Linked DNA regions of Homo sapiens: regions 2, 3, 4, 5 and 6 are each linked to region 1. The links are contacts of gene promoters, found by promoter capture Hi-C in blood cells and fetal thymus (Javierre and others, 2016). All regions are on one chromosome and are shown on one strand. Each heading gives the region's core, a stretch centred on a gene start or on the middle of the fragment in contact. The rest is flanking DNA. Distances are from core to core; before and after follow the strand shown.

Evidence for each region. Contacts are between HindIII fragments. The CHiCAGO score rates a contact against its expected background, and 5 or more counts as called.
Region 2: a contact is called between a fragment that was not itself captured here and the fragment with the promoter of PF4V1 in region 1, in 4 of 17 cell types (neutrophils, M1 macrophages, monocytes and 1 more). The highest score is 14.0, in neutrophils.
Region 3: a contact is called between a fragment that was not itself captured here and the fragment with the promoter of PF4V1 in region 1, in 3 of 17 cell types (neutrophils, megakaryocytes and monocytes). The highest score is 7.9, in neutrophils.
Region 4: a contact is called between a fragment that was not itself captured here and the fragment with the promoter of PF4V1 in region 1, in 3 of 17 cell types (neutrophils, megakaryocytes and M1 macrophages). The highest score is 12.1, in neutrophils.
Region 5: a contact is called between a fragment that was not itself captured here and the fragment with the promoter of PF4V1 in region 1, in 4 of 17 cell types (neutrophils, M1 macrophages, M0 macrophages and 1 more). The highest score is 12.6, in neutrophils.
Region 6: a contact is called between a fragment that was not itself captured here and the fragment with the promoter of PF4V1 in region 1, in 2 of 17 cell types (neutrophils and monocytes). The highest score is 17.7, in neutrophils.

What each region holds. Positions count from the first base shown.
Region 1 is chr4:73,851,500-73,855,047 of GRCh38, reverse strand. It overlaps PF4V1 (platelet factor 4 variant 1), which reads right to left and starts at 1,752. Exons shown (of 3, transcript NM_002620.4): 1 at 1,586-1,752; 2 at 1,139-1,265; 3 at 565-1,013. The coding sequence starts at 1,685. The coding sequence ends at 926. The HindIII fragment of the contact is 5,836 bases long and covers 1-3,548 here.
Region 2 is chr4:74,073,756-74,077,303 of GRCh38, reverse strand. No RefSeq gene overlaps it. Among named protein-coding and RNA genes, the nearest start is that of CXCL2, 24 kb to the left of the region's middle. The HindIII fragment of the contact is 3,206 bases long and covers 138-3,343 here.
Region 3 is chr4:74,053,218-74,056,765 of GRCh38, reverse strand. It overlaps the pseudogene PPBPP2. Among named protein-coding and RNA genes, the nearest start is that of CXCL3, 16 kb to the right of the region's middle. RefSeq lists a cis regulatory region at 1-213. The HindIII fragment of the contact is 500 bases long and covers 1,743-2,242 here.
Region 4 is chr4:74,033,336-74,036,883 of GRCh38, reverse strand. CXCL3 (C-X-C motif chemokine ligand 3) reads left to right here. Exons shown (of 4, transcript NM_002090.3): 4 at 1-295. Among named protein-coding and RNA genes, the nearest start is that of CXCL3, 3.6 kb to the left of the region's middle. The HindIII fragment of the contact is 1,374 bases long and covers 1,100-2,473 here.
Region 5 is chr4:74,014,560-74,018,107 of GRCh38, reverse strand. No RefSeq gene overlaps it. Among named protein-coding and RNA genes, the nearest start is that of CXCL5, 18 kb to the right of the region's middle. The HindIII fragment of the contact is 4,022 bases long and covers 1-3,548 here.
Region 6 is chr4:73,700,578-73,704,125 of GRCh38, reverse strand. All of the region lies in intron 2 of INKILN (inflammatory MKL1 (MRTFA) interacting lncRNA), which reads left to right. Among named protein-coding and RNA genes, the nearest start is that of UMLILO, 8.0 kb to the left of the region's middle. The HindIII fragment of the contact is 8,798 bases long and covers 1-3,548 here.

The DNA.
Region 1 (3,548 bases), core at 503-3,002:
TGTATTAGAGAACTTGAGTTGGAAAGCGTTTCTGAATTATCCAAGTGAGCCCAATGTATTCACACGCCTCCTTATGAGAGGTAAGCCGGATATAAAAGGTAGAAGAGTCAGCAGAGACAGAGGAGAAGTAGAGGTTGGTGTGATGCAGGTTGAAGACTGGAGAAAGGGCTATGAGGCAAGGAATGCTGGTGAAAAAGGAGAGGAAGTAGATTCTCTTCTAGAGCCTTCAGAAGGAATACAGCTCTGAGGACAGCTTGAGTTTAACCTTTAAGACTTACTTTGGACTTGAGACCCCTAGAATTACAAGACGATAAATTTGTGTTGGTTAAGCCACTGAGTTTGTGGTAATTTCTTACAGAAGCAACAGGAAACTAATATGCCCACATTATAACACCTTCATTTCTCCCCAGTGTAGAGCAATGTCTTCCTAAAGGATGAATGAAAATATTACCTCACACTTCTCTTAGTTCCCAGAATCTTAATATCACCAATGTTAAGGAATTTGTGGGGATAAAAGCAGAGTGTTGCTTATTTACTTCATTGAAAAAAAAAAAAGCTGTCGAGTAATGCTTAAGAGCTACTAATATTTATTGGCAAGCTAATTGTAACATTCAAGGTAAATATGTAGCTATAAAGTACTGCAATCACATAAATGAACAAATATGTATCAGCTAACATATAACACTGAACAAAATCAGTCTTTATTAAACCAAGCCTTCCTTCATAATGCTTTTTGCTTAAAATTCTGGAAATTTTAAAATATGAAATTGTGATGTGTCAGCATTATTTTTGCAGTATTATTAAGAAATAGATTGACTATACCACAACTTGATTTATTTCGTTAATATAATATAAGAAGGATAATACAAACATCAGAAGATTCTTTCACAGTTAGATTGAAAGTGCACACTTAGGCAGCTAGTAGCTAACTCTCCAAATGTTCCTTAATGATTTTCTTGTACAGCAGGGCTTGCAGATCCAAGCAAATTTTCCTCCCATTCTTCAGCGTGGCTCTGGCAGGGAAAAGAGAAGAGACGTGACTTTCAGTCCTTGGGTTTGCAAATGGCATTAGAAGGGGGAGGGATGGGCAGAGGAGGCACGGAGCGGGAGCACTAACTGATGCAGTGCGAGGACTCACATGAGTTGGGCAGTGGGGCAGTGGGGTCCGGCCTTGATCACCTCCAGGCTGGTGATGTGCCTGGGACGGACCTGGGAGGTGGTCTTCACACACAGGCACTGCAGGTCCCCATCTTCTTCAGCTTCAGCTGAGGGGGAAAGGGAGGGAGTAAGAGAGGAGGAGGGGTGGGAGTTGTGACTCCCTGAGTAGCCAGAGATACTTTAGGGACCTTTTCCACTACCTTCAGCTTTCTTTTCCTTAGCCGTAAATCAGACCTCTCTCAGACAGAGGTTGTGCTGATCAGGTGGCGAGGTGCACGTGCAGTGCCTGGCACTGTACCCGCAGACTCAGCACGCGCGCAATAAGAGCAGCTGCGATCATGATCCTAGAGGATTCCTCCCCAGCCCCAGGGCTTCCCGGACTCCCCCTCGCCGCTGCTGGCCCTCCCAGCCTGGTTTCTGCTCTCACCTCTGGCGAAGGCGACCACAACTGGCAGGAGCAGCAACGCCAAGAACAGCATCTCCTGGCGGGTGGCGCGGGTGAGGCGGGACCTGGCTGCGGAGCTCATGTTGCAGCTGAGGTTCCAGCAGGATCCCAGTGCGCAGGGAAAGTCGGGCTGGGGTTCTGCAGGCAGTGACTCCTGGCCTCACCAGGCTTCTTTTATCCCCCGTCACTGTCCCACTGTCCTTCCAGTCCGGAAGCCTGGGGTGGACAGCGAGGAACTGTGGTGCAGGAGCTAAGACACTGCTATGAAGACTCAGACTCTGGCCAGCCAAGATTACAAAACAAAAGGCTGGGGGCAGCTGCCTTGGCTAGGAGGTGGTACAAAGATGCATACCTCCAACCTCAGTTTATATACACTTACATTTGTGGAGTTAGAAACACTACTTGCATCTTAGAAGAGAAATATTTTCTGTGTTGTATCATAGTAGAGTTCTCTGTAGTCACCAAGCAACTTACACAGCAGGTGGCTTCAGGACCCAGACAGTTCTTGTTTCCTTCTCAACTCAAGAACTGCCCATATGCTCCTAACTTCAGTCTTGATTACCATTGAGTTTGATGGCTGTGTGTTTGAAGAGTGTGCTATTTGCAATTGTTTTCTAATACTAATAAGTTTAATTTGGTCTCTAGGTGATGACTCTTCTGAATTTCACCTGAATGTGGAAAACTTCCCTAGTCTCTGGATGAGATTTACCAGGCTCCACCAACAATCACCCAGTATACTGTAGGATGCAAGATCTATTTCCCGTTACTCTTAGAAAAATTGCAGAAGTAATATTTGAATGCATTATTTTTATAAAAACTTAGCTCCTGGATGTTTCTTCATTGTTTCAATCCTGAATAATAGTCCAGAAGAGAGGACAAGGAGAGTTTGCCAGGCCATGTCTTCCAGAGCCTGCTGTGTCCTCAGTCACTGCCAGTGACAGGGTGAGATGGGCTGCACTGTTGGCAGGGAGCAGTGATGCTCTCTGTGGGAGGATTCAGGGCATCTGGGAGTTGGGTGTGAGAATGATGGGAGGTGACAGTGAAGGGGATGCAACAGAATCCCACACGGGAAAGGGGAAGAGATCCATATCGACCGTTTTCTCTTCTCTAAAAAAGAATGACTTTGGCTCTTGATCAGGGCAAGGTACACCCTCAACCCAAAGCCCAAGGTTCCCTGTCACTCTGACTAACAGTGGTGAAGGGTGTCAGGGACCCACTGGATGGAACTAGCTGATATTCTAATGCTCAGCAAACCTGCATTTTTGTAGGAATATGCAATTCTTTCTCCTACTCTCCCTACACCTGCCTATTCAGCTGGCTAAGACCTATTCATATTTCTGGTGTCAGCTTAAATATCACTTCCTCAGGTGTGCCTTCCCTGACAGCTATATATAATTGTGTTCCCTTGTTGTTCTATCTTGCAGAACTCTGTTCTTCGTATTTCTCACAGAATACACAAACATACACACACATATATTGTAGATATATATATATATATGTGTGTGTATGTGTATCTGTGTATTTAAAAGTGTTTAAAATTGTTTTGTTTCTTAAATGGAAAACACTGTGACATTAGATATCATAACGTTTATCACTATTTCAATGTACTGGTAGGGACTCAGTGCAAAGTAGCTACAGTAGTGAAGATAATGTGTTGAAAATGATGATGATGAGGCTTTGACGTGTTCCTATGTCTATTCAATTGGAGCAATTAGAGCATATAATTGGAACATACATCTATATTGACACGTGTCACATATGGTCAAAATTATTTGTCCACTTGTCTGCCTCTCCCACAAGATAGTGATCTCTTCAATAGCAATTCTCTGTGACTTATGTGCAGTCACCCACCACATAACAACGTTTTGGGCAGTAATAGACTGTATAAGTGATGATGATCCCATAAGACTATAGTGGAGCTAAAAAATTCCTATTGCCTTGTGAT
Region 2 (3,548 bases), core at 491-2,990, 220 kb before region 1:
AAACTAGTTCAAATATTTGACTGTTTGATTTGTTAATGCCAAAAAAATTGTACTCACTATGGAATAATTAAGTTCATTTATGAAACTGTTTAAAAAATAAAATCAAAGCTCATAGTTCACTGTTAGTTAATTAAGCTTGAAGCCCATGGAAACTGCTATCTTCAAACAATAAGTAAATTGTAGTTTGCAAGTCTTGACAGGAAAAAAGTTATACTCTGAACTCAATTTTTTCTGCAGTATATCTAGGCTGTGCATGTAGACTTAGTTTGAAAAATTCTATTAAGACTTTAAATGGAATTACGCAAATAGGTACAAAATTCAAAAGCAAATAATTGCTGAGGAAAAGCATCTTAATTCCCTATTTTGTATGAACATGTCCTTGGTAAAGATGCATAGACATTCTCAAGACTCCATTCTGTAAGTCACCATTAACTGCAACTAAGATTGACTCTTTCACAGTTTCGCAGTTTCATGGCAGGAAATAATAGATTCATTTCTCTATTTAACAAGTTCATCTCATTGTGCCCCAAAAGCCCCAATTAAAACAAAGTTTGAAAAACAAACTCAGCTTCTTTATTGGCTTGTGAGCAAAAAGTATACCACTTGATAAACTTCACCTTTTATTCTTTAGAGGGGACAGAGAATACAAGGAGAGCAATAAAACATTCTCTGGGTTACAGAGAGCACATGCAAGTGGGCTGCAGTATTGATTCCACCATCCAGAACAGGATCAAGATTAAGGACAGACATGGGTACTCAGAACTCACCAGCACTCCTCCTTCTGACTGTCCTTGTCCTCTGCATGTTTGGTAAGCCAACTATGGCTTTTATCTTTTCCTTCTAGGGACTGGAAAAACTCAGAAAGGGTTCCAGATGTAATGAGATTATATTTAACATTAAGCAAAATATAGAAACTGTGAAATTAAAAGGTAAGCAGATCTGTATGGTATTTAGATTGTGGAGTGTCAAAAATTTATTGTTGAGTCAAATAAAAACATGTTTACGGCCAGGCGCGGTGGCTCACGCCTGCAATCCCAGCACTTTGGGAAGCCGAGGTGGGTGGATCACCTGAGGTCAGGATTTCGAGACCAACCTGGCTAACATGGTGAAACCCCGTTTCTACTAAAAATACACAAAATTAGTTGGGCGTTGTGGCGCACGCCTGTAATCCCAGCTACTGGGGTGGCTGAGGCAGGAGAATCGCTTGAACGCGGGAGGCGCAAGTTACGGTGAGCTGAGATCGTGCCATTGCACTCCAGCTTGGGCAACAAGAGAAAAACTCCGTCTAAAAAAAAAAAAAAAAAGATGTTTACCTTCCTAGAAATATCTGGCTGCGCGGCCGGGCGCGGTGGCTCACGCTTGTAATCCCAGCAATTTGGGAGGCCGAGGCGGGTGGATCACCTGAGGTTAGGAGTTTGAGAGCAGCCTGACCAACATGGTGAAACCCCATCTCTACTAAAAATACAAAAATTAGTCAGGCATGGTTGCGCATGCCTGTAATCCCAGCTACTCCGGAGGCTGAGGCAGGAGAATCGCTTGAACCTAGGAGGCGGAGGATGCAGTGAGCCTACATCTCGTCATTGCACTCCAGACTGGGCAACAAGAGGGAAACTCTGTCTCAAAAAAAATAAATAAATAAATAAAAGAAAAAGAAAATAAATATCTGGCTGCAAGAGTTGTGCTTTTCTTGTTATAGGCGATAGTAGGAAGATTACTGAAAGTAGGTTTAGGGTGTTTGCTTTAATGATGGTAGGCAGATAGAAATTGCTACATTCAATTGATAAAATTTACATATAATCTTTATTTTTACAACTTTTCATAGAAAGGATCAAGTTAATTTTTGCCATTAAGAAAGTTATTGACCGTGCATATTAATACTTTTAAGCAATTAATTATTGGTTTAGTATATCTACCAGTTTTTCAAATATAACAGATGCTCAGTAAGTATTTGTTGATCAGGATAATAGCATATAATTAGGTTTGTGTAACCTTCTCCCTCAATATTTCTGAATTTGTAAATCCAGTTGAGTGTCCTGCTACATTGATTTCAAATTTCAAGTAAGTGTTATGGCTACCTTTGTTCTCACTCAGGGCTTTTCTATTCCTTTCTCACACAACTGATTCCTCTGAGAGTCAAGAATTGTGATGTGAGTGTATTCAGATATATTCTGACTTTATTTCTTCCCAATTTATTAAAAATGTTCAGTTGATACCTGAAGGTGCTTTGTACAGCAGAAAATAAATCCTGTAAGTAGCGAAGATGTCGGGGAGTGTGGAAGCCTCTAGGACTGTGATTTTCAAAGCTGGCATTTCTTTACAAAGAATGCCAAGCTGAGAGTGTAGGAAACCTAGCCTCTAGATATGATTCCTGCACAATGTGGGAAAATAATTGCCCAGTATTTTTGCTTCCATTCCTGAAAACATCCTGCACTCTCTCCAAAAAAAAAAAAAAAAAAAAAAAAAAAAAAAAAAAAAGGTGGAGGGGGGCTTTCAAATGGAAACATAGGGGGTGAATTCTTCTGAATGGAGTTAACCTTGTAGTAAGTGAACATGTACAATAAGAAAAGATACACATTCATCAGTAAGAATACATGGATAATTCAATAAATTCAATATGGCCTGATGGCCCTGGAGACAAATTTACTGAGGCATAAGCCTACAAGTATAGAGCTTAGAGACTACAGGAAACAATTCTGCATTTCATTAAACTATTTTTACTGTAAACTATGTAATACAGACTGTTTCAATTGTTCATTGCTAGGTAACAAATTACCACAACGTAGTGGTTTAAAATTAACCCATGTAATATTTCACAGTTTTGTAGATTAGCTGTCTAGGTGACTTGACCAGGTTCTCTGCTTGGCATTTCATAAAGCTAAAATCGAGGTGTCAGTAGGGCCAAGCTCTCATTTGAAGGCTCTAGGGATGAATCCACTCCCAATTCAGATTGTTGGTAGAATTCAGTTCTTTACAGCATAGGACTGGGGTCCTGATATTCTTCCTGGCTGTTGGCTTGGGGTCACTCAGCACTCCCAGAGGCTGCTCTCACTTCCTTCCATGTGGCTCCTTCCATATAAGCAATGAACAACCTGCCTTGCATTGAGCTGAGCTCACCCTTCAAATCTCTCTTACTTCCTCTTCTGCTACCTGCCAGAGAAAACTCTCTGCTTTTAGGGTTCAAGTTATTACATTAGGCTCACTTGAATAATCACTCTTGATTTATTTAGTCTACTCATTAATAACCTTAATTACATCTGCAAAATCTTTTTGCTGTGTAAGATAACGTAATGATGTTTGTAATATCTCATCATATTCACACTCCTAGGGAAGTGGGTGGGAAGCTTGATGGGCTTGTTTTAGGATTCTGCCTGCCACAAATACAAAAGAGAAGACGATTACATATATATAGTTTGGAGAGCAGTAATATAGTAAACACCCACTCTCTTGTTATGCAGGCTAAATTTTAGAACTAACTAATACACCAGAAGCCTCTGTGTATGAACCTCTTGTTATAGGCTGAACTGTGCATTTCCTAAATTCATATGTTG
Region 3 (3,548 bases), core at 743-3,242, 200 kb before region 1:
TTTGTTACTACTTCCTCATGACCCTTGCTGATGATGTGTCTTTTGTGACAAGCCACATTTGCTGATTAAGGCAATTACTCAAAGATACTGTGATCCATGCCTACCTCTTTCCTACTGTCAACTCACTCAAAAACATCATTACTTCAGGAGACTTTTCCTGTAGTTTCCTCAAAAGGATTAGGAACTTTTTGGAAATCTTACTAATGAACGAGGAAAGAAATCTGCATAGGGTTAGTATGGAAAGAAAAAAAGTGTCCAGTGAAGCTAATAAATATTCTCAACAATGTGTTTAAGGGGTTGAACAGAAAATGAAAGATACTATGAATAGTGCTAAAGACCTTTATATCTTGCTCTGGAGATAGCTTTGATTTTATGATTGAATGAAAATGTATCTGACTTGAGAATTCACAATATCTCAATCTCAATAACAAGAAAAGGTTGTAAAGTCATCCTGCAGGAGGAGCTAGAAAGAAGCCTGTTCTCCTCATTCTGTGTCCTGCTGAGCTTCTCTTTGCTATTGACTCCATATCTCAGCTCTCAGAAGAAGCCAAACTCTCAGCTTGTGCCCTTCTTTTAAGCTTGCTTAAGACTAGACAGTTCTGTGTTGAGATGGGAAGAAAAATTATTTTAGTTCAATATTTTCTACTGCTAAACTCTAATTTATAAGAAAAAATTAAGTAGGGTGGAAAAAATAAGAAATACATTTATCTACTGAAATTATTTCTGTGGAGGCATAAATAATTTTAGAAAAGTTTATTGAAAGCCAAATGGGAAGACAGACCTGGAAAGACACATCAACAAAGTTGGGGGTGTTCTAGAGTCTTTCATAAGCTAAAAGGGCTTTATGGGAAAGTTTAGAAGAAGAGAGGAAGGCTCCTCATACCAGAGTTGTCCTCTTTTTCATCGGAGGATAAAATAAAGGAGTTACAATCATTAGATTACTACATACAGGCTAAATGTCTACGTGCAAAACAATCAGAAAACTTCTTGTTTCAGTGTAACTTAGAAATAAATCATGGTCCTATTCAGTGTCATCAGGTTCTACATTAATCAGTACGTCAACAATCTGAGGAACTCATAATAAAATGCTTTACTCAGAGATAGAATGTCAACATCAAGTCACCAAACCTTTCCAAGGTGGGTTAATTTGGAAGTCTGCTTACTTATAATGTAAACTGTAAAATGTGACCTGTAGGTTATCACACTTAAAAACAGTTCCAAATAACTTCAGTAGGCATAGTGAATAATTGTTCAACAATAAGAAAAATTGGCTTGAAAACTAAAAAAAAAAAAAAAAACAAAAGAGAGAATGAGTTTTGTTTGTAGTTTCTTGATAAAATTATAAAATTTATTTCTAAGGCAGAAAGAATTCAGTAAGCTAAAATCCAAAGTAAGCCTCTGATGATAATTGGCTCTTATTTTATCCATACGGTCCCAAAGAACATCTGCTGTCTTTGGCGCAGGGCCATATATTTGTGGTTTCAGGTGCCCCTAAAGTGTCTATAGGAGCCTATAAACAAAGCCTATAAACTGTGTTGTAGGAAAGACAGCACATATTGTTACAGGCTCATACAAAGAAAATATATGTAGTGTTTCAGTCTAGTTCTTACCTTCCTAAGTAGAGTCCTTACACATGTGTAAGGGAGATAGGTATTGAGAAAGGGAGAGTGGGAATGTGAAGTGATGCATAACATGCAACTTAGTAGGAATTTTGACCTGTGTTGGGCACAGCTTGACAAGCTTGTGTGTGTGTATCACCACATACCCTCACTTCCCCCTTCCCTACCTCTTTCTCCTTACTGACTTCAAGGGAGAGCATATAAATGACATCAAGGGGTATGAAAAGCCACTTAACTGCAGACTTGTAGGCAGCAACTCACCCTCAAGAGGAAGTCTTCAGGCTCTAGAAACATCTTTAACTTCGGCTTCTGCACCATAAGCCTCAGACTCAATGCCACCCTGCAGCTGTGCCAGATCACTTTGTGCCCTGCAGGTGCTGCTGTTGACTGTTCTGGGTTCCTCCACCAATGGACAAACTAAGAGAAACATAGGGAAAAGGAAATGTAGAGATCTGTTCCTTGCACCTGTTGCTGCTTCTGCTATACCTGTATCTGGGAGAAAGACTGGCTTGGTGCTCCTGGGGCTGGAGAGTGCCATTATAACAACAAATCCAAGTGGAGGGGTCACAGAGAGGGGGCACTTCACATTTGCTGGGCATTCTGCTGGGCACTTTACTAAAGCTTTACAGATCATATTCACAATGGCTTTATGAGAGAGGTACAATTACCTTCAATTTACAATTGAGAGAACTGAGAAAAATATTCACGACCACTAATAGATCACTTTTTACCCCAGCTGTAAGTGTAGACAGTGACTTGTACACTGAACTGCGCTGCGTGTATGTGAAGTCAACCTTTGTACTTCATCCCAGAAACATCCACAATTTGGAGTTGGTCTCAGCAGGACCCCATTGCAGCAAAGACGAAGTAATGTAAGCCACTGCTTCTGTGCTATCGCCTCATCAGGGAAGCCCTCTACCTCCATCCCCATCTGCATTCATTTCCTCCAGTCTCACAGATCCTTTCTGATATTCAGGCCAGGACACCCACAGATAATTCTATTCTCTCTTGCAGAGCCACTCTGTAAGATGGGAGAAAAAATCTGCCTGGACCCAGATGCTCCCAGAATCAATAAAATTGTACAGAAAATGTTGAAAGTTGATGAATTCATCTGGTTAATTTGTTAACTTTCTGCTAACGCTTTTCACTGGAAGGGGAGGATTTTGAAGTCTTGACTTTCTCAGATTCTTATTTATCCAGGATACTTATTCTTACTGTATTAAAATTTTGATCTAAGTTCTATTCTGTTTCAAAAATCTCATTTTATTCTGAGAATGCTGGATAAAAGATAACAGAAAGAAGGTGAAAATAAGCAAGCCATGCTTCAATATATAATATATGTTTTACCCCCAATCCTTGGCTAAACATTGTAGTGCACTTTCCCTTTATTTATTTGAAAATTTCTATTGAAACACATCTTTGTTGATTTTTCCAACCCCACTCTACTGTAAGACTAGACATGCTGATGATAATAAACAGATTTAATAATGGTTAATGATATTAGGAATCACACAGAGCCCAGCGCAAAATACTTGCTCAATAAATTTTTGTTAGTATGTTCAGGAACTTAATAGGGTCTTTTAGTGTCTTAGTGCTATTATGTCTTGCTTAAAACATCTTCTGAAAGTTTCTTCTGATGTTTGTTTTAGCCTTCAAACCCTAAAAATAATAAAGTTGTAGAATGTAAGTCTTGTGAACTCTGCTTTTTTACTTTAAAGTGTATATATTTACCCCTGGTAGAATAAAAAATAGATGATGGAAATGAATTAATGTATCCCATTAAAAAACCTGTGATATTTTTTGAAACAAGAAAGAAAGAAAGGAAAAAAAATTCTTGAGGTTAAATGTTTTACCCTGACATGTTTGTATATATTAGCATTTAGTTAACATCTACATGGTTACAATTCTAGCATTAGTATTGACCTTGTA
Region 4 (3,548 bases), core at 537-3,036, 180 kb before region 1:
ATGCAAGCAATTAGTGGATCACTGTTAGGGTAAGGGAATGTATGTACACATCTATTTTTTATACTTTTTTTTTAAAAAAAGAATGTCAGTTGTTATTTATTCAAATTATCTCACATTATGTGTTCAACATTTTTATGCTGAAGTTTCCCTTAGACATTTTATGTCTTGCTTGTAGGGCATAATGCCTTGTTTAATGTCCATTCTGCAGCGTTTCTCTTTCCCTTGGAAAAGAGAATTTATCATTACTGTTACATTTGTACAAATGACATGATAATAAAAGTTTTATGAAAAAAAAGGCTTATGTGGTTTTTCAAAAAATTCTTCTTGACTTTTAGTTCTTCCCAGGCACCCAAGGTGTTATACAGTTAGGCTGCAGGTTCTATCTAAATCTGTGCCTGCTTCTAGCTGTCACTTCCCTTATATTTCTCTTATTCAAAACGGACTATCCGATGCTTTTAGAAAGTACATACTACCCCCCAACCACTTTGATAATTCTAATTTTGTATAACATTTAGCTGTTTTTCACATTGACCAATTTGTTATTCAAAACTAGTTCTTTACAAATTTTTGAATGTTATTGATATTTTAACATGGGCGTCTGCTAGATCTGCTAGATGCTTTTGGTAAACGGTTTCTCAAATACTTATGCAATTCTTTCCCGTTTAACAAGGTTGGGAGCAAAAGGTAGAAAAGTTGATTCTGCCTTAGAACTAAAAAGAATTGTGATATTAAAAAAAATGACCTATTGAGATACTGTAATGTAAAATATATGACAAAAATAGCACAAAAGACAGGTTGGGAGATAAGTGGGTTTAGACTATAACATATCTCTTCAATTGTTAGAGAAAGTATTAAGAAAAAAATTGTAGCAAGAACAAATGTTGTAATTTGTAGGGCAACAACTAAAAGGAAAATGCAAAATTTTGGACTTAATCTAAAAAGGACATAAAATAGTGTAATAGAAAATACCCGACTAATACAAAAGAAGACAGAAATGGAGGAATAAACCAACACATGGATCAAAGGCAGAAGAGACACATCTTTACAGAAGAATTGCTGATAATATGAGTATAGTCTCCTCCTTCCCGAAGGTGAAGCTTAATTCCCCTCTCCAGGTGCGTGTAGCTAGACTTAGTGACTGGCTTCCAAAGAAAAGACTAAGAAAAAGGAAAAAAAAATTACAGTGGAGAAATTTGGCAGACAATCTTAACCAAGTGATCAAGGTTACTGTCACCAATTATGGCATGTGAATATTACGCACCCCCTCATATAATGTGATGGAAGGACACTTCCACTCCATTTATATTCTTCCAGAAAATGCATAACCTTTGTATAATCACAACAAGGACATCATAAAAATCTGAACTGATTTTTATGGTGGTAAAACTGATGGACGTTTTACAAAACTCCTCATAAGTACTCTTCAACCTGTCAAGGTCATGAAAAACAAGACAAAATCAATAAATTGTCACAGATTAAAGGAGACAAAAGTGATATGGGGACTAAATACAATGTGGTATGTTGAATTGGATCCTGGAATAGAAAAAAGGACATTATTGGAAAATTGATGAAATCTGAATAAAGACAAGAGTTTAGTTAACAGCAATGTACCAATGTTAATTTCTTAGTTTTGTCAAATATACTACAAGTATGTAAGATGTCAACATTACGGGACACTGAGCTAAAGGTCAGATATAGAAACTCTCTGTGCCCACACAAATTTTTTGTGAGTCTAAAATTATTCCAAATTTAAAAGTTTATTTTTCAAAAGATAGGACAAATATAATAGCAGATAGTAGACTTAGATACAACTATATTAAGAATTATAGTAAATTTAAGCAGAATAAACACTCCAATTAAAAGTCAAAGATTATCAGACTACATAAATATGACATGTTTATGCTTCTTAAAAGAGACACACTTTAAATTATATCTAGATAGGAGGAACAAATTCTAGTGTTTTATACCACTGTAGGATGCCTATAGTTAAAAGTAATAGTTTCAAACAGCTAGAAGGATATCAAATGTTCCCACACAAATAAATGATAAATATTTGAAATGACGGATATGCTAATTACCCTGATCTCTTCACTATACATTATATATAGAAACATTACTATGTACCCCATCAATATGCACAGTAATTATGTGTCAATTATAAAAATACAATAAAAGTAAAAACAAATTGGGCACCAGGTTGCTTGAAATTAAAAGAATTAATAGTGTTATATCACATACAAATGGGCTGACATGGATATATTACTATATTGAAACCTGACCTGGATATATTAATATATTTATTACTTAACTATTAATATGCTATTCATATAAATTATATTTATTAAAAATTGATATACTAATGAAGGCCTAATTAATATATTATGCCTTAAGGAAAGAAATAGTCTTGGAGATAAAAAAGACTGTTAAAAATAAAAAGGGGTTAACTAAACAAGAGACAAAACATTCCTAAGCTTTTATGAACTTAGAAACACATTATCAAATTATATAAACTATTTGTGAGGCTGAGGTGGGAGAATCAACTGAGCCCATGAGTCTGAAGCTGCAGTGAGCTATGATCATGCCACCGCACTGCAGCCTGGGTGACAGAGCAAGGCCTTGTCTCTAAAGAAAAAAAAAATTCACACACACACATAAAGCAAAATGAAGAGATCAAAAAAGAGCAATAGACAGATATATAATCATAGTTACAGATTCTAACAAACTCTTTCAACACTTAATATGTAAAGCAGCACAAATTTAGTAGCAGTATAGAAGTGTTAAGCAACATAAGCAACCAACTTGGTTTGACTGACATATATTGGCAATTTACCCAGCAATTGCATAAATCACATTTGTCTTTCCAAAGAGAACATAGATGAGTCATAAAAAATGTATCAATACATTTCAAAATGTTAAAACATTACAGAAGACCTTTTCTGATCATCAAAGTTTTTTAGGATGATTTGTAACTGTCTTAGTTGAACTATGTATTCATACACTGTGTGTGATATGTTTGCTGTGGTTTATAACTCATCTCAACTTCCTACATTGTGCTTCCATAATACCAGAGTCATCATGATGACCAATATAATCATCTAGTATGATAAAAATGTTTCCATAGAGATGTTTGCTTATTTCCTGTATTTTTTCTGACATATTCTTTTGTAATTTTGGCATTCCTATATTTCTTGGATTACATGATATGAGCATAATGTAATTTAATTACTCAATACCTTCCACAAAAGTTTAAACAACAATCTCAAGAAAAGGCAAATATAAAGCTTATACTAAAAGCTAATTTTTAAAAGTTTTGGAATGATGTTCACATCTATATATTAGATGGTGTTTGGTGTTATTTCCAATAAAGTTAAATAATTATAGTTTGTTGAAATCATCAGTATGTCTTTACTGCAGAATTAGAAGACTAGCAATGTTGCAGAAGGAAGTGTGCAAGTTAAGAATCAAAGAAGAATTTCATGTTTAAGTTTTGGCTTTATCCACTATCTTTTACAAAACTCACCACAATCCCTTTTGTGTTGTATGCATCT
Region 5 (3,548 bases), core at 725-3,224, 160 kb before region 1:
TTCATGCTTCCACTGAGGCTAATCTCAGAGTCATCCTTACCAAAGCATGTATGTTGTGCTTCACACCCAATTCACCAGTAAGTCCTGTCAGCTATACCGTTCAAAGACACCCCCAACTGTAAAACTTCTCACCAGCCCTATGGTTTCATTCTAGACTGAGGCAACATCATCTTGCAATTGAATTGTTTTAACAGTTCTCTGCTCTCTCTCTCTCTCTTTTTTTTTCTTTTTGAGACAGAGTCTCTCTCTGTCACCCAGGCTGGAATGCAGTGATGCGATCTCAGCCCACTGCAACCTTCGCCACCCAGGTTCAAGTGATTCTCATGCCTCAGCCTCCTGAGTAGCTGGGACTACAGGCATGCACCACCACATCCAGCTAATTTTTGTATTTTTAGTAGATGTGGGGTTTCACCATGTTGCTAGGCTGGTCTCGAACTCCTGACCTCAGGCGATCAGCCCGCCTCAGTCTCCAAAAGTGATGGAATTACAGGTGTGCACCACTACACTCGGGCTACTCTGTCCTCTCTTTATCTTTCTCTGCTTTCCTTTTTTCTATTTTTTCACACAGCATATGAAAAACTTTCAAAGAGAAAGAAAAATCATTTTACTCTTTTGTTAAAAATCCCCCAAATGGCATTTTATGTCACTTAAAGAAAACCGAAAGTTCTCATCACACCCTGTAAGGCACAACCCTCCAATATTACAGTCCCTGACTACTTGTTAATACCGCTCAGCCACATTGCTACTTAAATATACCAAGCAAACTCCTGCCTTGGAATATTTGAACCTGTTTTTCTCTATGCCTGGAATATTTTTTTTCCAGAGCTGCATAATTTTTCCTTTACTTCTTTAAGGGTTTTGCTCAAATATCATTGTGTTAGAGTCTTTCTCAGATCACTCTATATAAAATACATATGTAAACCTATATACATCCACACACACAATCTTTTTTTTCTTATTTGTCAATTGTCAGCTCTAATAAAATAATTACTCATCAAGAGAAAATCTTTGGCTTATAGCTATATCTTCAGTGTCTTTAGCATTGCTGGGTATTAGTAGAAACTCAAAAAAAGTTTTGAGGAATGATTGAATGGTATACAGAGAAAGGAGATGGTGGACGAGCTTGGCACAGAGAACCAGATGGGTGGCAGGATGCTGGAAAGTGCACAGTGGCTTCTCTGACATGTCTGCTTGTCATTGGAAAAAGATCAAATTCCCATCCCTCTTCTTGGTAGGTGAAGCTGTGGACATGCAAAGCCAACCTTAGGAGAAGCAATGAAGAATAGCAGGCAGTGGTTACCTGTATGGGCTCTGCTGTCAGATGGCCTGGTTTTGAATTCCAGCTCCATCAATTTCCTGCGTGACTTCAGCCAAGTCACTCAACCTCTCTTAAACTCTATAATCTTATCCAGAAAAATGGGCAAAAATAGCTGTTGGGAGGATTAGGTAAATATAATTCATAAAACACACTTGGAACAAAGTAGTTGTCATGAAATATTAGTTGTTATTATATATGATAAGGTGCAGTGGGCTAGTGTGGAATTATGAGAGAAAAAGAAAAAAAGAGATTTAGAAAACTCAAGACATTGAGCTTATTCTGCCACAAATGTTTAGATAAGGAAGAGCTTTCTTGTCTGTTAAAATACTTATTTAGAGTAAAGGGCAAGTACAATACCAACAACTATAATCTTTCTAGTGTTGACCTAGCTAGACCTTTATATTTCATGAACAGAGGTAAGATTAATCAGATGAAATGCCAAATGAAAAGAGGAAGACAGTTGAGTAAAACAAAAAGTGTGATTTAGCAGAGGATTTAGTGCGTCAAGTTATACCACATCCTGTTAGTCTTTTATGCCATTATCCAGTGTTGTGTGTCCCAGCAGCATAACAAAGGTTAAGAACAAGTTTATTCAACATCAGCAATGATTGCCAGAGGGAAGCAACTCACTTTAGTCAACATGGCTATCAAATGACAAAGAAAGGCACAAGTGAGAAATCTGTTTACAACCCTGGCATTTGGAGACACAACAGATGAATTATAGCATTTTGTAGATATTGAATTATATTTTTACATTCACTCACAATACTTGGAGTGAAGAGATCAAAAATTCTGTTAGAACAAATTGTAATGCATTTTCTCTCTTGTTTCTATTTTTCCCCACTTCTCCAATATACTTACATACTTTTAATAGGTCGGTAAATCTCCTAAATATTAGCTCACATCCAATCATACTGTTTAGAGAGCTTCTATGATTCATAAACATGCCTGAATGGATTTGGAGCGAATTCACAATTTCAGTATTTACCAAAATGTTAAATACTATGATTTGTATCACAGGTATCAACAGAGCTAAAGTAGCCAGATTAGTAAAACTTCTCTGAGAAATGGCTGATCTCAGTCATGGAAATGCATAATTGGGCATTAATATTGTTTTTACTGGAGATCTCATATTTGGCACTCTAACACCTCATACTGCAAATCAACAGGCAGCTCATTCTTACCTCTGTCATTAAGTATCAGGGGTTTTCCGTAAAACTCAATGTTAGATGCATTGACCAGTAACAAATGAATCTTTAAGTCAGACACTGAAGCAGATCAGTATCATGGTTAAATTTGAAGCAAACATTTCACTGTAAAATTCAAGGTTTACATCATATCTGATATGGGACTCTAGGGAAAGATTTTGCTCAGAAAGAGAAAAGAAGGGTGGAGTGAACACCTTGGAAAGGCTCCCTCTAAGTATGTACATCCACAGAGAAAAAGGCCTAACCTCACTTCCTGTTATGGATGTCAACTGTGGTGTAAACCAAAGAACTATCAAGCAATCAGCTAGGGCTCTAGTAGGATGAAGTCCCGTCCCAGACTTGCAGCTGAGAGGATTCACTCCCCGGATAGGCCTTTTGGTGATAAAAAGAGGAGAAAGAATGAAATGAATGAGGTTTCTTTGAGAATAAATGAGGAGGACAAGCCTCTGGGGCTGTTCAATCCTAAACACAAGGGAGTGTTGACCTAGACACTGAGGCAAGGAATGGTGATGAAAGGGCAGGATGGAGGCAAGGACGAAACACACTACCGCAGCAGGTGATCTCCAGGTGGTGCATTCCTGGGTTCCGATGAATCAGACATAACTGGGGGAACTTGGTTTCAACCACCTGGAAACTAAGGCATTAGAAAACAATGAGAATATAAATTCATGTGTCATTTCTAGGAAATAACTGACTTTTTAACTTAATAACATGTCACATACCAAATGTCCACCTAGCTTCTTACAGTCTCTAAAATGTGCTAGGTTTAAGATTTTGTGTATTTTGGGCTCATAATGATATTTTAGGCACAGAGGAGGAGAGAAGAGCCAAACATATCTCCATCTCAGACATCACTATTCCCAGATAGAATCAGTGGTGGCAATCCTTCCCATGACTGTCAAATGTGAACTAAGGTGTTTTACAAACTAAGAAGACTAAAGGGTCCATATTGGTCCCTCCTGTATCAGCTGGCCTTGACAATACCTCTTACAGATATGGGACAACTGTTACATCACCTTTCT
Region 6 (3,548 bases), core at 394-2,893, 150 kb after region 1:
TTTCCTAGCCATGCTCCACTGCTCTATGTTATCATAAAAGGACTTTAATTAAAGTGTTATTCCATTAATTGCCCAAGAAGTCATATTTGAAAGAAATAAATGCTTATATATGTATGCTTACATGTCCCTTCTGGAAGTCTTAACCTTTAAAACTACTCCAGCCCCTTCCCCAAACGTCCTTCCCCAATTCCTTATGCACTTACTGGATTCAAAGCACGACACTATAAAAGCTGTGAGAAGAAAAAAATATAAATTTAAAGAAAACTTTTTTTCAGAAAGATAATTAAATTCAATGTAACAATAATAACTACTCGTTTTCAAAACTCAGCTCTTCAACTATTTCTCCTAGAATTTTTTTCCAAAACTCTTACTTCAAGTCTAACACTCCTTCATCTCAGTTTTCTCTTTCATGATTATGTATTTTAACTCATAGGTATACTCTTTAAGACAGGGGCTATCCCTGAGACCTATCCCACATCCTGAGAAGGGCTTGGCACTCTCCTTGTCAGATAGCCTGTTGCCTCCTCAGCCACACTGTGAGCTCCTTGATAGAAAGAATTGTGCTATCTGTGGCTTTCAGAGCCCTATTCAGATACTTGATGCTTAACATGTGCTTGTAGAGTCGGTAAACTGAATGTATGTGGAGCCTCCAGAACTGTGTTCCCATTGAGGATGACAGGGAACAGATCAATCCTTGTCCTACATGGCCTAAATCTTAGTTTGACAAATATCTGGAAAGAATTACAAAAATATAAGGTAGGAATGACTTGGGAGTCCAGGGTGGTGTCTGAACCCTAGTCACTGCCTTGGGCACACATTTCTCATACTGTTGCAATATCACAGTTGTTGACTTTCAGTTCACTCAGTTGGTCAACTCCCTAAAGTTGGTTAAGGACCCTCATACCCCTCATCCTACTCTTTTCTTCTACCCCAAACCCCCTTTGCTCAGGACTTCCAGTGGTTCCCTCCTTTTAACCTCAGTATTAGCCCTTTATCCCCAACTCTTTGCCTGCCAAATGACATAGGAGCAAAGGATGAGAGGGAGCTGTCCTGGAGGGAAGTAGTACCTGCAAGGTAATCAGACCTTTCATACTACTCAGATCTTGTGGCCATCTCATGTGTGATTATGTTACAAGGATGTTTGTTTTCCTTATGATTTCATGCTATATGAACTCAATCTCAGGAAGAAAAAGAAAGAATTTTCAAGGCTCATCCTGCTACTGATGAGTTTTGTTTTAGAATGTTGCCTCCGAGATGCCTAACGCCATGCAGGAGAGAAAGCTAGGCAGGCAAATTAAAACATGGGCCTCAAAGCTCCCCTGGGAGATGGGAAGTTCAGCTCTCTGTGGCTCCATAGTGAAAAGAGATCAGAAGCAACACCTCTCTGGATCACCAGGACTTCAGAGTTGCTTGCTCATAACCAGACAACTTGTGAAGGCTTCTGCAAAATTTTATGGTGAAGGCTGAAGAGAAAAGAAGTAAAACCCTCTCTAACACTTATACACAGAGCCCTGTGACCCTGACCCTTAGCATATCTTTCACAGGGTTCTCTACTGCAGTCATCTCACCTCTCACCATGGATTTCTCTATTCCAATTTTTTAATTGTAAGATATGTCACATTCACAAAAAAAAGTGAAAAGAACACATATCTGGCTGGGTGCAATGGCTCACACCTGTAATCCCAGCACTTTGGGAGGCCGAGGCAGGTGGATCATCTGAGGTCAGGAGTTCAAGACCAGCCTGGCCAACATGGTGAAACCCCATCTCTATTAACAATACAAAAATTAACCGGACATGGTGGCACATGCCTGTAAATCCCAGCTACTTGGGAGGCTGAGGCAGGAGAATCGCTTGAACTCGGGAGGTGGAGGTTGCAGTAAGCAGAGACCTCTCCATTACACTCTAGCCTGGGCAACAAGAGCAAGACTCCATCTCAAAAAAAAAAAAAAAGAAAAAGAAAGAAAGAAAAGAACACATACCTATAGTTTAAAACCATTATTATAAATGTTAAACACAAATAAATGGTAAATGTTCATATGTGTAACCACCATTCAGATGAAGAAATAACACATTACCAACATTCTCAGAACCCTCTCCCCTATTTCACCTCTTCCTGTTCCCTTTGAGTAATCACCTCCTGATTTTTTCCATAGTCATTCCTTTGCCTTTCTTTATATCTTTACTATCTGTGTATGCATTTCTAAACAATCCAACTTATGTTGCCTGCTTTTGTGCTTCACGTAAGTGAAATCATACTTTTTGTATTTTTTTGTGCCTTGCTTCATTTGCTCCACAATGTGTTTGTGTAATTCATCCATGACATTCCATGCAGCCATAAGTGGTTTATTTTATTTGCCATTAGGGATTAAGAGCAGAGACTCTAGAGCCAGACTTCTCAGGTTTAAATCTCAGCTCTTTTCTCGTTCAGATGTATAACCTTGTGCAAATTATTTCCATCTTTCTGTACTTTAGTTTTAATTTACCTGGAGCTGATTGTGGGGTATGGTGTAAGTTAGGGGTCTTAGGTAGACCTCCCTGGGAAGATCTCTGAGATGGTGATTTGTAAACATGTGGTTTATTGGACCATGAGCATGGGAACTGTACCTGAAAAAAGGTGAGGAAGGCAGATTTGGGCAGAGGAGAAACGAATGGTGAAGCATATGCAGTGGAGGCCTTGGCAGGTCCCATAATAGCTTTCAGCTTGTCTCAAATTGATAGAATTTGTATCCCCACATCAGCTAGTCTCGATGTGAGCTGCCTTCAGGGAGGGACCACAGCCTTCAGCAAGGCAGCTCCTTTAGGCCAAGGGCAATTCCTGAGGAGTGATTCAGCTGCGACCTGTCAACCAGCAATATTGCAGCTGGAACAATTAGTGTCATCACTCTGAAGGGGAGAACTGGGAAGGGCACCACGGCATACAATACAGGGTCCAGTTTGATTTTTTCCCATACAGGTACTCAATTGTCCCAGCACCTTTTTCCACGTTATATGATGCTACCTCTTTCATATCAAGTGTTCATACAGTAGTCTATTTCTGAGGTTATTAAAAGTTATGTTTCCAGCCGGGCGTGGTGGCTCACACCTGTAATCCCATTACTTTGGGAGGCCAAGGCGGGTGGATCACGAGGTCAGGAGATGGAGACCATCCTAGCTAACATGGTGAAACCCCGTCTCTACTAAAAATACAAAAAAATTAGCCAGACGTTGTGGTGGCCCCCGTAGTTCCAGCTACTCGGGAGGCTGAGGCAGGAGAATGGCGTGAACCCGGGAGGCGGAGCTTGCAGTGAGCTGAGATCGCGCCACTGCACTCCAGCCTGGGTGACAGAGTAAGACTCTGTCTCGAAAAAAAAAAAATATATATATATATATATATGTTTCCTCGGTCAATTATCTGATTAAAACAAATTGATATCAACATATATATAGAAAATTACCCAATGGAACTAAGAACAAAGAAAGAGGACTTGACATATTAAATATCAAGAGTTGCTGTAATGATCTCTTTTTTTCACAATCTCTTTCCTTCCTTTTCTTCCACATGAAATGT